Linked DNA regions of Homo sapiens: region 1 is linked to region 2. Evidence: promoter capture Hi-C in 16 types of primary human blood cells and fetal thymus (Javierre and others, 2016). All regions are on one chromosome and are shown on one strand. Each heading gives the region's core, a stretch centred on a gene start or on the middle of the fragment in contact. The rest is flanking DNA. Distances are from core to core; before and after follow the strand shown.

Region 1 (6,005 bases), core at 734-3,233, 510 kb after region 2:
GTGTTGGGGGAAACAGCGCTCCACACAGTGGAGGGCTCGATGTGCACTTGTGCCGCTACACACAGGCAGTCCACAGTTCCCTGCACATCTCATCTGATGCTGGAGCAGGAGGCAGCCTTTCCACTCATCTCACTGAGAAACAGAAAGAAGGGAGGCCTAGTGCTCTGCCAGGGCCCCACAGCTACAACCCAGCTTCAGGGTTCCCACTCTAGGGCTTGTTCCATGACTAGGTTGAAGACATTTCTGGTAAGTTTGAAAGGTGGGATTCTTTTTACTTTCTCTTTTCTTCTCTCTCTCTCTCTCTCTCTCGTGTGTGTGTGTGTGTGTGTGTGTGTGTGTGTGTGTGTGTGTGTTTTGTTTTGGCTTTTGTCGTTGCTGTTTGTTTGTGCTTCTAACCAAGAGGTAAGGCAGAACTTTAAGAAGCTGATGTCTTCCCATCACTTCTGTTGGTCCAAGTCATCCTCCTGAAAACCTAGGTGTGGGCTGAGCAGCTCAAAAGCCAAGACAGCAGAGAAAGCACAGAGTGGTGAGGGTCAGATGTGTGAGGGGAGAGGGTCCACTTGATGGAAAGAAGGGAAAGAGAGGCTGTGGGTGGGGAGGTTTGCCAGATGCCTGGCTGGGCTGACCCACCCCAGGTTCGGGAGGCCTAAAGAGCAGCTGCATCTTTTGAGGACTGTATAAGGGGTCAGAAGCCCCACCTCTTCCTACCACCCTTGTACAGGGGAGAGCAGGGTTCTCATTTCTACAGCGCCCCCCACCGCCGGTGGGGCAGGGATGCAAGCATTATCTCACCTCTTACTCTGTGTCCTGGAAACAACCTGGGAAGTCATCTTGTCCAAACATTTTGTTTTGCAGGAGATGAAACTGAGGCAGAAAGCGGCTGAGAAATATTCTCAAAGTCACACAGCTAGAGTGGCTGAGCTTGGTTTTATGCAACTGATCGGAGAAGGTAGTGGACAGAGGAGAAGAAAGGAAGAGACAGGGCCCCAGGGCAAGAAAGAAAGGGATTGACAGGGAACGCCGCTGCAGGGAAGGGACTTCGGGGACTGCTCAGCATGTCCGCACAGGAAAAGAGGCCCAAGCCCTTGTTCGGTTCATTCCAAAAAGTGGATTGACATCAAGATGAATGGCCAATTAGGGAAGATTGCAGAGACAATTTACAGAGCAAGTTCGCTCATATTCTGGGGCTAGATCAGTTGGGGGAGACTCCAAAGGCCCGTCTTCAGTAAAAATAATCTGATGATCGCTAATTCTATAGCCATTAGCTTTGGAGAGACTGGTGTGAGACGGTGTAAAGTGTTAAAATGACTCTCTTCCTTTGGGGGAGAACTTACAGCCTTAATTCAGCTGGGGTTGCAGTCCATGGGTCTTAACTGAAAGAGAGAACATCAGTCCCAGGCATCACAACAGAGAAGCCCAGGAGACCCAAAGAATCAGCAATCTGTTTCTCCAGTACTTGAAGGACAGGGTAGACAATGGTCTTTGGAGGAAGTTTAAAGCTTTCAGACGTTGAGGTGGACCAGACGGCCTCTAAGGGTTTCTCCCTACCAGAAGAGTATTTGTTTGTATGGTTCAGTTACTAAATGGACACCATGGGCTATCCATTCTTCTTGTTCAAGCATCATAGAACCAAAGCCATGACCTGCCAGTCTAGAGCTGGCTTTCAGCTTGGAGCTTGCTTGAGCACAGGGGAAGGAGAGTGGGGTGGGGAATGGGATTCCACAACCTCTTCCCAGCTTCCCAGCTCTGATGTCCTCTCTCTCGCCTGAGGTGTGAGGGGGTAATGGCTCTGAGCAACCCTCACAGCCATACAGCGAGAGGATTAATTAATGTGGCTAACATGCTCGGAGATCCCTAAACGAGGACGTTAGCCAAGGGCCAACATTATTAGAGGGATGATGGCTATTAGGATTACGCTATTGTTATGATGTTTGCTTTCTCAACCCTTAAATCACACTCTACCTCGCCATCACTTGCATTTTGTGTAATTATAGTTTATATAGGTAACAAATGGATATTTCTGCAAGCCTGGGAGAGAGCCTTCTGCATACATTAATTTGCTTGATTAGTTCTCTATTTAGTATGCTCTGTTCCCCCAAACCCCCCTTTCCTGCCCAGCTTCAACAGAAAATTAATGAGTTTTAACACCTTGTAAAAGTGGGTTGTGCTGTGGGAATACCTTGAGTGTACTTTGGGTTTTAAATCCACACATTCAGAGGCTTCCTAAAGGTTATGCAAAGGTTAACAAACAATTAATATGTTGAATCAGTGTGCTAAATCTGTTTACCCAATCTTTGCAATCTAAAGGCCATTAGCCATCAGCCTCAACACTTACATTGATCTCTCTCTTTCCTAACCCACCCCCACTCTGTTCTCTGAATAATCTGAGTCAAAAGCAAGAAAAAGTTCTGAATCGAGAGCAGTAAATATCTCTGGAAAGTTTGGGGTTTCTTGCTACTTAAGCCTCAAAGCTTTGGGAATCGTAATAGACTTGATCAAGTTGTCAAAAATTTTGAGAATACAATGAAAGATGGGAAGCATTTCCACCTTTTTAACAATGAGCAAAATGTGAGTTAGTCTTGTACATGGATCCCATCTTGAGTTCATGGCTCTTGTGCTGATTCTCTCCCTTGTTTATAGGACAAAGGGGATGGAGAAGTGGTGGGAGATAATTCTCATCTTAGTGGACTAATTGGAAAGAGGCTTTCTACTACTCTCTAAGGAGAAAATTCAGCAGAGCTATTGGGGCCAGAATGTTTCTTTCCTTAAGAGAAAGAAGAGGGTAAGGAAATAGCCAAATGTAATCCAGGTGGTAAGATTGCCCCCAGGGGTCTCCTAGTCCTTCAAAGAACTTCATTGCTCTCCCTCATTTTAGGATGCCTTTGTTCATGATGATAATGATGATCATGACTATAATGAAGACCATGACCTTGATGAGATCGTCAAGATTTATCATCAGAGTCCAGTGGGCATGAGGAAAGCAACATGCAGCAGTCCTTCCCAGCCTGGCCCCTTAAGAGGAGCTTTCCTGCCCATGTGATCCACCTCTATCCTTGGCTCAACAGAAACAATCTCCCATGTTGACTGAGACCCCGTCTCCTTAGCCTGTTCCCAGACTTGCCAATCACCTTGTCTCCCTACCTATGACCCCTTTTGTGATGCTCATTCTTGCACACAGACTGCCAGATTTGGCCGGTGAGGTGATTCCTTAGACATGATCTGACATTGGCTCTGGGACTCAACTCATAAGCCTTGCTCAGGTCTTCTCCCTAGTGTCAGAGGCAACTCCTATGGAGAACTTCAAAGGTGGCATCATTTTCCTCTTCAAAGTAAATATTAGCAAGGACTAAGAGCTAGCTCTCTGTCTGCTTTCGGTTTTATTGGTAGGTGGGGCCCAAAAATTGTAACAACTAGAAAAGCACAGTCACTGACCAACCAGAATGGACACCTGATGGAAACAACCAGAATAGCTGTGCCCTTGCATGCCAGTCAAATGTCTGCCCTGGTTGTCTGGATATCAATGGGAAGGCATTGTTTTGGGTTCTATCAAAGTGCACTGCTCATGAATTTTCTTGATTACATTTGGCTTTCGCATTGTTTGTGAATTAAGCTTTGTTTAATTTTACTTCCACTTACAATACATTGGTATGTGCAAATACCTTTGTTTCTAAAACTTCGTGGATGTGAATATTAATGGTGATAATGAAGACATGTGTCAGGCAGTGTCCTAGGAGTTTTATGTGAATTATCTCATTCTGATTCTTTAGCTGAGGTACCTACAATTACTACTCCCATTTCATAGATGAGGAAAAGCAAGATTAAAGAGGCTGTGGAGTTTGATCAAGGTCACAAAACTGAAAAGTGATGGAACTAGCTCTCTTTGATGCCAAGACACATGTTCTCCTGCAAGAGAAAATATTCTACTTAACAAGATTTAACACACTGCCTTTTATCCCAGAGCAAATCAGATGAGTCATGTAAACCCACTGGCCTTTTTTCTGTACCTGGAAATGAGGGTATTTGAAGTATAACTTATATTAACAGATACGAAGGTAGAAAAATCATAGCTATCTAACAATCAGAAATAGAAAAAAAAAAGACAGTATACCTGCTTCATTGTACATTATCAGTCATTAAAAGTAAATTTCACAAAGAGTTTAACATTCAAGCGTGTTAATAATATCAAAATAATTGAATGAAGCAGGATATAAAAGTACATATTAGGCATTTTATTATTACAACTACTTAAAACATATCCAGAATGCTAAAGTATTTATAGGTGAAGGGTACTGATGTTCATTGCTTTGAAATGCACTAAAAATAAGATAATTGTAGAATCTAAGTAGTGGGTATGGAATGTTCACTTTATGTGTTTGAAAATTTTCAGAATAAAATGTTGAAAAATATGTGTAGAAAAAAAAGAGAGCGAAAGGAAAAACTTACGGATGTTAAGAACAGTCATCTTTGGCCAGGCATGGTGGTTCACGCCTGTAATCTCAGCACTTTGGGAGGCTGAGGCAGGTGGATCGCCTGAAGTCAGGAGTTTGAGACCAGCCTGGCCAACATAGTGAAAACCCGTCTCTAATAAAAACACACACACAAAAAAAAAAAAATTAGCCGGGCATGGTCGCACACGCCTTAGTCCCAGCTACTCTGCAGGCTGAGGCAGGAGAATCACTTGAACCCAGGAAGCAGAGGTTGCAGTGAGCCAAGATTGTGCCACTGCACTCCAGCCTGGGTGGCAGAGTGGACTTCATCTCAAAAAAAAAAAAAAAAAAAAAGAGCAGTCATCTTTATGTGATGGGATTATGGGTGATTATTTTTCCTCTTTCTAATCTTCTACTGTTTCAGTTACCTATTGTTATATCAAACCATCCCAACACATAGAGACTTAAAACTACATCCATTGATTATTTCTTATACTCCGTTTGTGAGTTGGTGACTTAAAACAACAGAACTATTTATTATTTCTCCTGATTCCATTTGCTAGCAGGGAGGTTCCTCAGCAGGTTTTGTTTGGGCTCAGGCAGTTGCTTTCAGCTGGAGAGTCAACTGGGGTGGGAGATCCAAGTCAACCTCCCTTACGCCGTTGGTAGTTGGTGCAGAATGATGGTGGGCCTTTCTCTCCATGTGGTCTTTCATCCCAGGCTTCTTCATGGATGTCTGTCTCAGGGCAATGTTCCTAGAGGAGAGCAAAGGTGGAAGCAGCAATGACTCATAAGCCCTAGCCTCAGAAGTTGCCTAGCTTTGCTTTCTGCCCCTTTCTATGTGGACAAAGCTGGTCTCAAAGCCAATGAAATTGCAAGGAGTAGACAAGCAGATGTCTCCTCTGGATGGGAGGAGTTGCAAAGCTGTATTGCAAAGGGTCATAATCCTGGATTGAAATGAATCTGGAGCCATAAAAAACCTACTACAACTACTGCGCTAGATGTTAAAATGGGATTCTTGTCTCAGTATTACTGAGACAAGACATTATTTCTACTGAAAGTAGAAAATAATGGGTGCAGAGTAAAGCAGGATGCTGGGCCAGCATGGCAGGGTCTCCAGTTCAGTCAGCACTCGAACATCATTGATTGTTTTAAGAGAAGGCTGTGAATGCATGAATCAGGATGAAGAGATTGAGAGTAAAGATTTCTTTAAAGAGGGAGAGAGTTAGTTGTTGAATACAAAGGCAGGGGCACTTAGAACCACTCAAAGGATTTGCTCTATGCCCCTAGAATTTGAAGGATGCAGGGATGCAACCTGACTCATGCTCCAAAATCAAAGACAGAGGGCCAGCTGGGATGGCCTGCATGGATGGGCAGCCAAGAGGCAGGGCAGGGGCAGGAAGCACTGCACTTGTTAGGTTTGGTGGTGCGAGGATACAGGTGCGCTTCCCGTGGACCAGACGTGGACTTCCCCTGAGAAAAATGCCTGCTTATAGGTCAGATATGGATCCCCTAGAAGTGAGTGCTCCCTGCTGGAGAAGTGAGGCGACCACAACAGAGGAGCTGACTGCTGTAAAT
Region 2 (6,092 bases), core at 1-2,500:
GAAACTTTCATGCGATGCCTTTGGAAGGCTACAGACATTGTCTTTTTGGAGTTTTCAGTGCATGAAGGTATGAAACCGCATTTATTAAGCACCTACTGTATGCCAGAACCCGTGCTGCACAATACTACTGCTGCTAAGGTGGGAGTGATTCTGAAGCCTTCTGCCACCCTAGCTACCTCTGCAGGTCGTGAGGGGTCTTGGGCTATTTCAGTATCATGCACTTTACTATCCTGGCATACAAAGGCTGGGTGAGAAATAAAATATATAACGAACGGATTACACAGGGGTTTCCTGAAATAACCACCCTTCCCATCCATCCCAGAGACACCCCAAAAGTACTTCTCGTTATATACAAACATTTGCTTTGAACCTCAATCATGTGACCTTGACTCCTATAACCTATCTTATTACATTTTTAAAACACTGTATGATTAACGCGGAAACCCTTTCTTCGGCACTTTCTCGCCACTGGAATCGCGTCAGTTTCTCAAAGTTCCAAAATAACCTTTCCCGGGCACGGATTGGTACCTCTACTGGGGAAGGGCGGGGAACCGCGCAAGACGTGCCGGTGTGGAGCCAGAGCCAGAGAGAACTTCCAGCGCAAAAGGAAAATAAAACTTGTGGCTGGTGTTTGTGCAGGAGGGTCTCCGCCATCCTGAAGCCCCCCGATCCTGGGGCGTCTCGGGGGCCGCCAAAGGAGCGCCAGGGTGTGGGTTTGCTCCCGACGTCCTTGACCTAAATTTCTGAGCGGTGGCTGGAAACAGGGCACAGCGGAGGGCGGGCGGCTGGTGCCATTCCCGGATCTCGGCGGCAGGGGCCGGCAAACTTGAATGGAGAGGGCGAACTAGAGAGGGTGGGGGGCGTCTTCTCCCAGGTCCGGGTGAGGAGCCGCAGCAAGCTCCCCGCGCCTCCCCTCCCCCGATCCACCCGCCCCCCGCAGCCCATGTGATCCAGGGAAGTCGGGGTGCGCTCCCCCTCGCCCTGCGCCCTGCCGGCCCGGAGGCGGGGTCCCCTCCGCCCGCGGGGTTCGCGCGCCACCCTTGTGGGTCCGGCCGTGGGGGGCCGAGTGTGCGCGCGCGGGCAGGCGGGGGCCGCACGGGGGTGCGTGACGTCACCGGCATTGGTTACACGACGTTCTAGAACTCCGCCCCACGTGCGCCGGGGAGGAGGGGGAGGAGGAGGAGGAGATGGGGGTGGGGAGGAGGAGGGGGAGAGGTGGGGATGGGCCGGGGGGGCGGGGACGGGGGGGTGTGCGAGGCAGCGGGGCTGAGCTAAGCCGAGCCCACGTGTGACGGCTCTCGCCGCTGCCCCGGCTCCGCCGCTCGCAGAGAGATTCGGAGGAGCCCGGGCGGGGGGGAGGAGGAGGGGGAGGAGGGAGCGGAGATCTCGGGGCTCGGAGCCGGCCGCCGCTCCGCTCCGATCGCTGTGGGGCTTGGTTTTTTGGGGGTGGGGGGGCGGGGGGGCTCAGATATGGAGGCAAATGGGAGCCAAGGCACCTCGGGCAGCGCCAACGACTCCCAGCACGACCCCGGGTAAGTTTCCAGCCGCTGCCCACCGCGCCGCCTTGGGCTCGCTCTCCTTGCAGCGGCGGGGACGGCGGTGCGCGGAGCCGGGCATCTCCCGCGCCCCCCCGCCTCTCCCGCGCGCCCCCCCCGTGGAAGTTACACACCTTTGGATTGCATTTCGCCGTCACCTTCTCCCCCACCCCACCTCCCGGCTCTCGCTCGCTCGCTCCCCCCCGCTTTCCTTTTAGCTTTTGTAAGTTACACGTCAAAATGGCCGATCTGACATCGGTGCTCACTTCTGTTATGTTTTCTCCCTCTAGTAAAATGTTTATCGGTGGACTGAGCTGGCAGACCTCACCAGGTAAGGGAGGGAGGGGGGGACGCCTGGGTCCCCCCCTTCTTGGCTTCTTTATTGCTCTTTGTTATCCCGGTGTAGGAGCCCCCCCCCCCCCGCCATTGGCTCCCCACTTCTCCTGTGCAAGGTTATTTTTTTTAAATAGCAAATCCTTTCTGAGCCCTCTATGCGACCTCTGTTGCCGAATTTCCCCCGCGTGTGCAAAAAATGCAAAAACAAAACAGAATAACAACAGAAAACTACTTTTGGATTTTGTCCTTGATCAAAATTTGCATTGCTTTTTTTTTCCACACCTTCTCTCCCCCCCCCATCTCTCTCTTTCTCTCTCTACAGATAGCCTTAGAGACTATTTTAGCAAATTTGGAGAAATTAGAGAATGTATGGTCATGAGAGATCCCACTACGAAACGCTCCAGGTAAACCATTCCCTTCTGGATTTTGTCTTTATTTTAGAACAAAGTTTAAGTTTTATTTTTGGAGGTGTCTTCGGAAGTAGCTAAGCGGATTAGAATGGGGCTCAGGCGCGTGGCTGATCTCGAACGGCGCTCTATACCACCCCCACCGCCCCCTAGTAACCCCAGAGGTTATTGTTAATTGGAGCTGAACTCTGGATACAGAGATACCCATCTCTCTGCTTTTAAGTCATTTTCCCGTCGCTTCTTTTTCTCTGTTTAAAATGACATTCAGCTTCATTTACTTTCGCATAGTTTTTTTTTTTCTTTTGATCTTAATGTGTGTTTCCCCCACACTCCCAGCTCCCCAAACTCTTAAGATCCCTCTTAGAAAGATGGTGGTAAATCTCTTCTAAGTGCCGGGCTTTCTTCGGAATAAAACAAAGCGTTAAGAAAGGGAAGGGGAGGAGGAGAGGAAACTGAGGTGGCCAAAGAGTGGAGGCACCAGCATTTTCCAAGTTACCTCCACCCTCCCTGCCCCCGTTCCACTTCCCCCGTTAACCTTGATGTTTTTTCTTGCGAGGTGGAGGGCTGTAGGCAGGAGGGGAATTGGAGGAGGGGAGTGGGAGGTGGGGGTGCGTGGGGGGCAACTTTTGCTCCTCATTCAGCCTTAGGTCTCACTCCTGGTTGCTTTCAATGGTGTCACATTTTCTTGTTTGTTTTTCTCCCTCTTTGTCTCCTTTCAGAGGCTTCGGTTTCGTCACGTTCGCAGACCCAGCAAGTGTAGATAAAGTATTAGGTCAGCCCCACCATGAGTTAGATTCCAAGACGGTAGGTTGCTTTTTGTTGTTGTTGTTCGCCCCTTTTCAGGAACGATCTGGGCATTGACAGCCCCATTTAAAGGGACAGTGCCTTCTTTTGCTTCTGTGCTAGAACTGGGTAGTTTTAAACTGAGCTAGCGAGTTGGCTCAAAAGTTTGCTGCTGTGGCTGGCTTTGGGGTTTTCTTTTTAGAGCCTGTCCCATTGCAGCTTCAGAGGCTGCCAAGGTTAGGCTTGGGGAGGAGAGGGTTCGGCTCCTGGAGAGTCTGCCTTCCCGGCCTGGGGACTGTGCAGAGAAACTCCACCAGAGAGCAAATGCAACTTTTCTTTGTCAGCCAAGCACAGCACGCGTTACCAACTGTGGCTGTGGGGATCAGCTTTGAGAAGGCACAGCCTGCTTTGTGGCCAAGGGGGACAGCAGTGGGAAGGAGGGGAGAGGGCGCTAATTACAGGTCCAGGCAACAGGTTTCTCTTGGGGCACTTGGGATTTGGAATGTGCTTTGGGAAGGGAAGGGGACGCTGGCGGAGCTGAGCTGGGCATCCACTGGGGTGACTCCAGATGGCATGAAATCTAAGGCTGATAAGGCCTGGGGGTTTCAAAGTGATTTTTTTTTCCTTCCTTTTCTTTCTCAGATCCTTTCATTTGAGTATGGGTACTTTTATACATCACAAGTTTTAAAAATCCAGAGTAGAAGGGGGAAGAGTCTCCAGGCAGAGGTCAGAAGGGGAAGGGAAGAAAGAGTGTCTGTATATAACAATACATTTAATGGGAGGGGGAGTGTGCAGTGTTTTATTTAGCCCCTGTGTGGGCTTCCTGCCTCTCCTCCCTTCCCTTTATGTCTACCAGAGTTTCCCCACGGTTTTTATTAATATATATCTGCCCCAAACAGAGGCCTTAAGATGACATTGGGCTGTAGTGCTGGGTTGCATGGAACTTCACTCCTCTGTGATGGGGTAGTGGGACAAGGCCAGAAATGGGGCTCTACTTCCATCCGCCTCTTATGAAAGTGAGCAAGACATTCCCTACCTCTGGGTCTCAATTTCCTCTTCTGTAAAATAAGTGGACCAAGGTGATCTTTCAAGCCCCTTTTGGCTTTAACATTGAATGGAAGAGAAGGAAAGCAAATAAAGAAACCTGGCAACCTTCGGTGCACTTGAATTGATTTTGCAAATTCACCCTCTTTCTCTGATCAAAGAGATCAGGAATGCGTGCCTTCTCCTAAGAAAGAAACCCACCTACACTCTTAGTTGCTTTATTAATTGTCCTGGACTTGTCATAGCTTGCATGCAGCCCAGCCTTTTGTACTTTTAGATAATTTAATTTCAGAAATGATTTGTAGGATGATAACAGATGTCTGAAAAATTTTTCTCTCCTTGATTTCGTGGCTAGCCATTTCAAAAAGCTAGTGAAATTAAAGAGGAAAATCTTTTCAAGGCAAATTTGGGAATTTATCATCCACCCCCTCTTGCTACCTGGGTGGGAGAAACAGTATTTGGTTTCTGTGGTGGCTGGTGGGTCATATTCCTCTGTATCAGGTGCAAAGCCTGCAGTTTCCCTCTCTGATTGTTTATAGACATGTTTTGGTCACTATTATTTAGTGTAACCTAGCTTTTGACTTTGTTTCAACGTTCAGTGCAGGAGGCAGAAGCGGTTGGTTTATTGACATGGAAACGAGGATCTTGTTTACTGTTACCTTAAAAGCTTTGTTTAGGTAACGGCCATTCACATCCAAAATAGTACCCTAGTCTTTTCCTAGAGGACTTGTAGATACAGTAAGTAGAGCTGTACCTAACTAACTAATGTTTTAATTTTTGGTAGTTTTCTTTTTTGTTTGTTTTTTAAAAAATAGTTGACAGGGATGTGCAAAAGGTTGGGATTTGCCATGCTTAACTTGACCCTTCCTCTCCTTCAGAGATCTCAGCGTGTAAACTTTGCACACTGAGGAACTTCGATCATGATATAATGCTCTGATACGGCCACACACCATCCAGGAGTTCTGAATTGGCTTTTTCGTTTTGTGATTTAAATTTTCTTTAGTACTTCACTTTCTTCATTGCACCTTACTTCTTCCAGCTCCTGGCACCTCCCTCAACATACCCCACACCTGTTACCCCATAAACAAGGTGATTTCTGATTGCAATTGTGTGCCGGCCAACTAAAAAAAACACCCTCTGGGGAGTATTTATAAAAAGACACCTCTGTCTTACGTACGTCAACAGAATGGAAAATCCACACCTGTTGTATTTCTCTTGTAGACAAGCGCTAGTCAGTGCTGGACACACCTGTAGATGCAGTAATGTTAATCTTTATGAAAGGGTAGTTTTCTAGATCAGAGATTTTTGTCTATTTTAGTTTTTGAAAAGTAATCTCTCATTTCTCAGGTGATGTTTAAAGGTAGGGAATGCAATGCAGACTTTTATTAGGTCTTTAAGCCCCCGTAATAACAGCAGGAAATCCTCATATGTCTTTCTGGCTGGGACCCTAGGTGATGTAAGTCAGGGAACAAATGAACTATCCTCCGTGCTTCCCACTCCCCACCCCCACCTCCCTACTTTCCTCCACAGCATTACTCTTTTCTCCCCTGCTCCTTCTCATGGCAGAAGTGAAAACAAAGCTCAGATTTACTTTTTAAAAGGAAAACATTTTAATATGAAAGCCAAAGCCTGGAAATAAATAACTGGTAGCATGTTTATACTATCTGTGTTACATTTTTACCCAAAGATTTGTGACATTTAGAAATTCAATGAAAACCGACAACGGGAATATTTTCACATTTCTTTCCTCCTCTTTTTATCTGTGCAGTCACTTTTTTCCTCCCTCACATCAGCCTGTTAGATTCACATGCTTCCAGGAGAACTGTTCTGAGCTGTACAGCTAGACCCTGATTGAGCATCATGCGTTTTGCAAGTGTGTGATTTGGACTGGAGGATGTTTTTCCACTCGGATTGAGGTTGGGGTAGGGGAATTCCCTACTTGTTGCACTAGATTCTGACTACTTCTTGTATTCAGTAACTTTTTTTT

Evidence for each region. The method cuts DNA at HindIII sites, captures the fragments that hold promoters and counts their contacts. A CHiCAGO score of 5 or more calls a contact.
Region 1: a contact is called between a fragment that was not itself captured here and the fragment with the promoter of MSI2 in region 2, in 9 of 17 cell types (naive CD8 T cells, M1 macrophages, total B cells and 6 more). The highest score is 11.1, in naive CD8 T cells.

Annotation. Positions count from the first base shown.
Region 1 is chr17:57,767,015-57,773,019 of GRCh38, forward strand. No RefSeq gene overlaps it. Among named protein-coding and RNA genes, the nearest start is that of CCDC182, 25 kb to the left of the region's middle. The HindIII fragment of the contact is 972 bases long and covers 1,498-2,469 here.
Region 2 is chr17:57,255,273-57,261,364 of GRCh38, forward strand. MSI2 (musashi RNA binding protein 2) reads left to right here and starts at 1,251. Exons shown (of 14, transcript NM_138962.4): 1 at 1,251-1,532; 2 at 1,826-1,866; 3 at 2,194-2,275; 4 at 2,998-3,082. The coding sequence starts at 1,471. It overlaps LOC101927510 (a long non-coding RNA gene), which reads right to left and starts at 1,724. Exons shown (of 3, transcript XR_007065860.1): 1 at 1,670-1,724. RefSeq lists a silencer at 806-1,435 and enhancers at 3,414-3,503, 4,490-5,013. The HindIII fragment of the contact is 32,545 bases long and covers 1-4,770 here.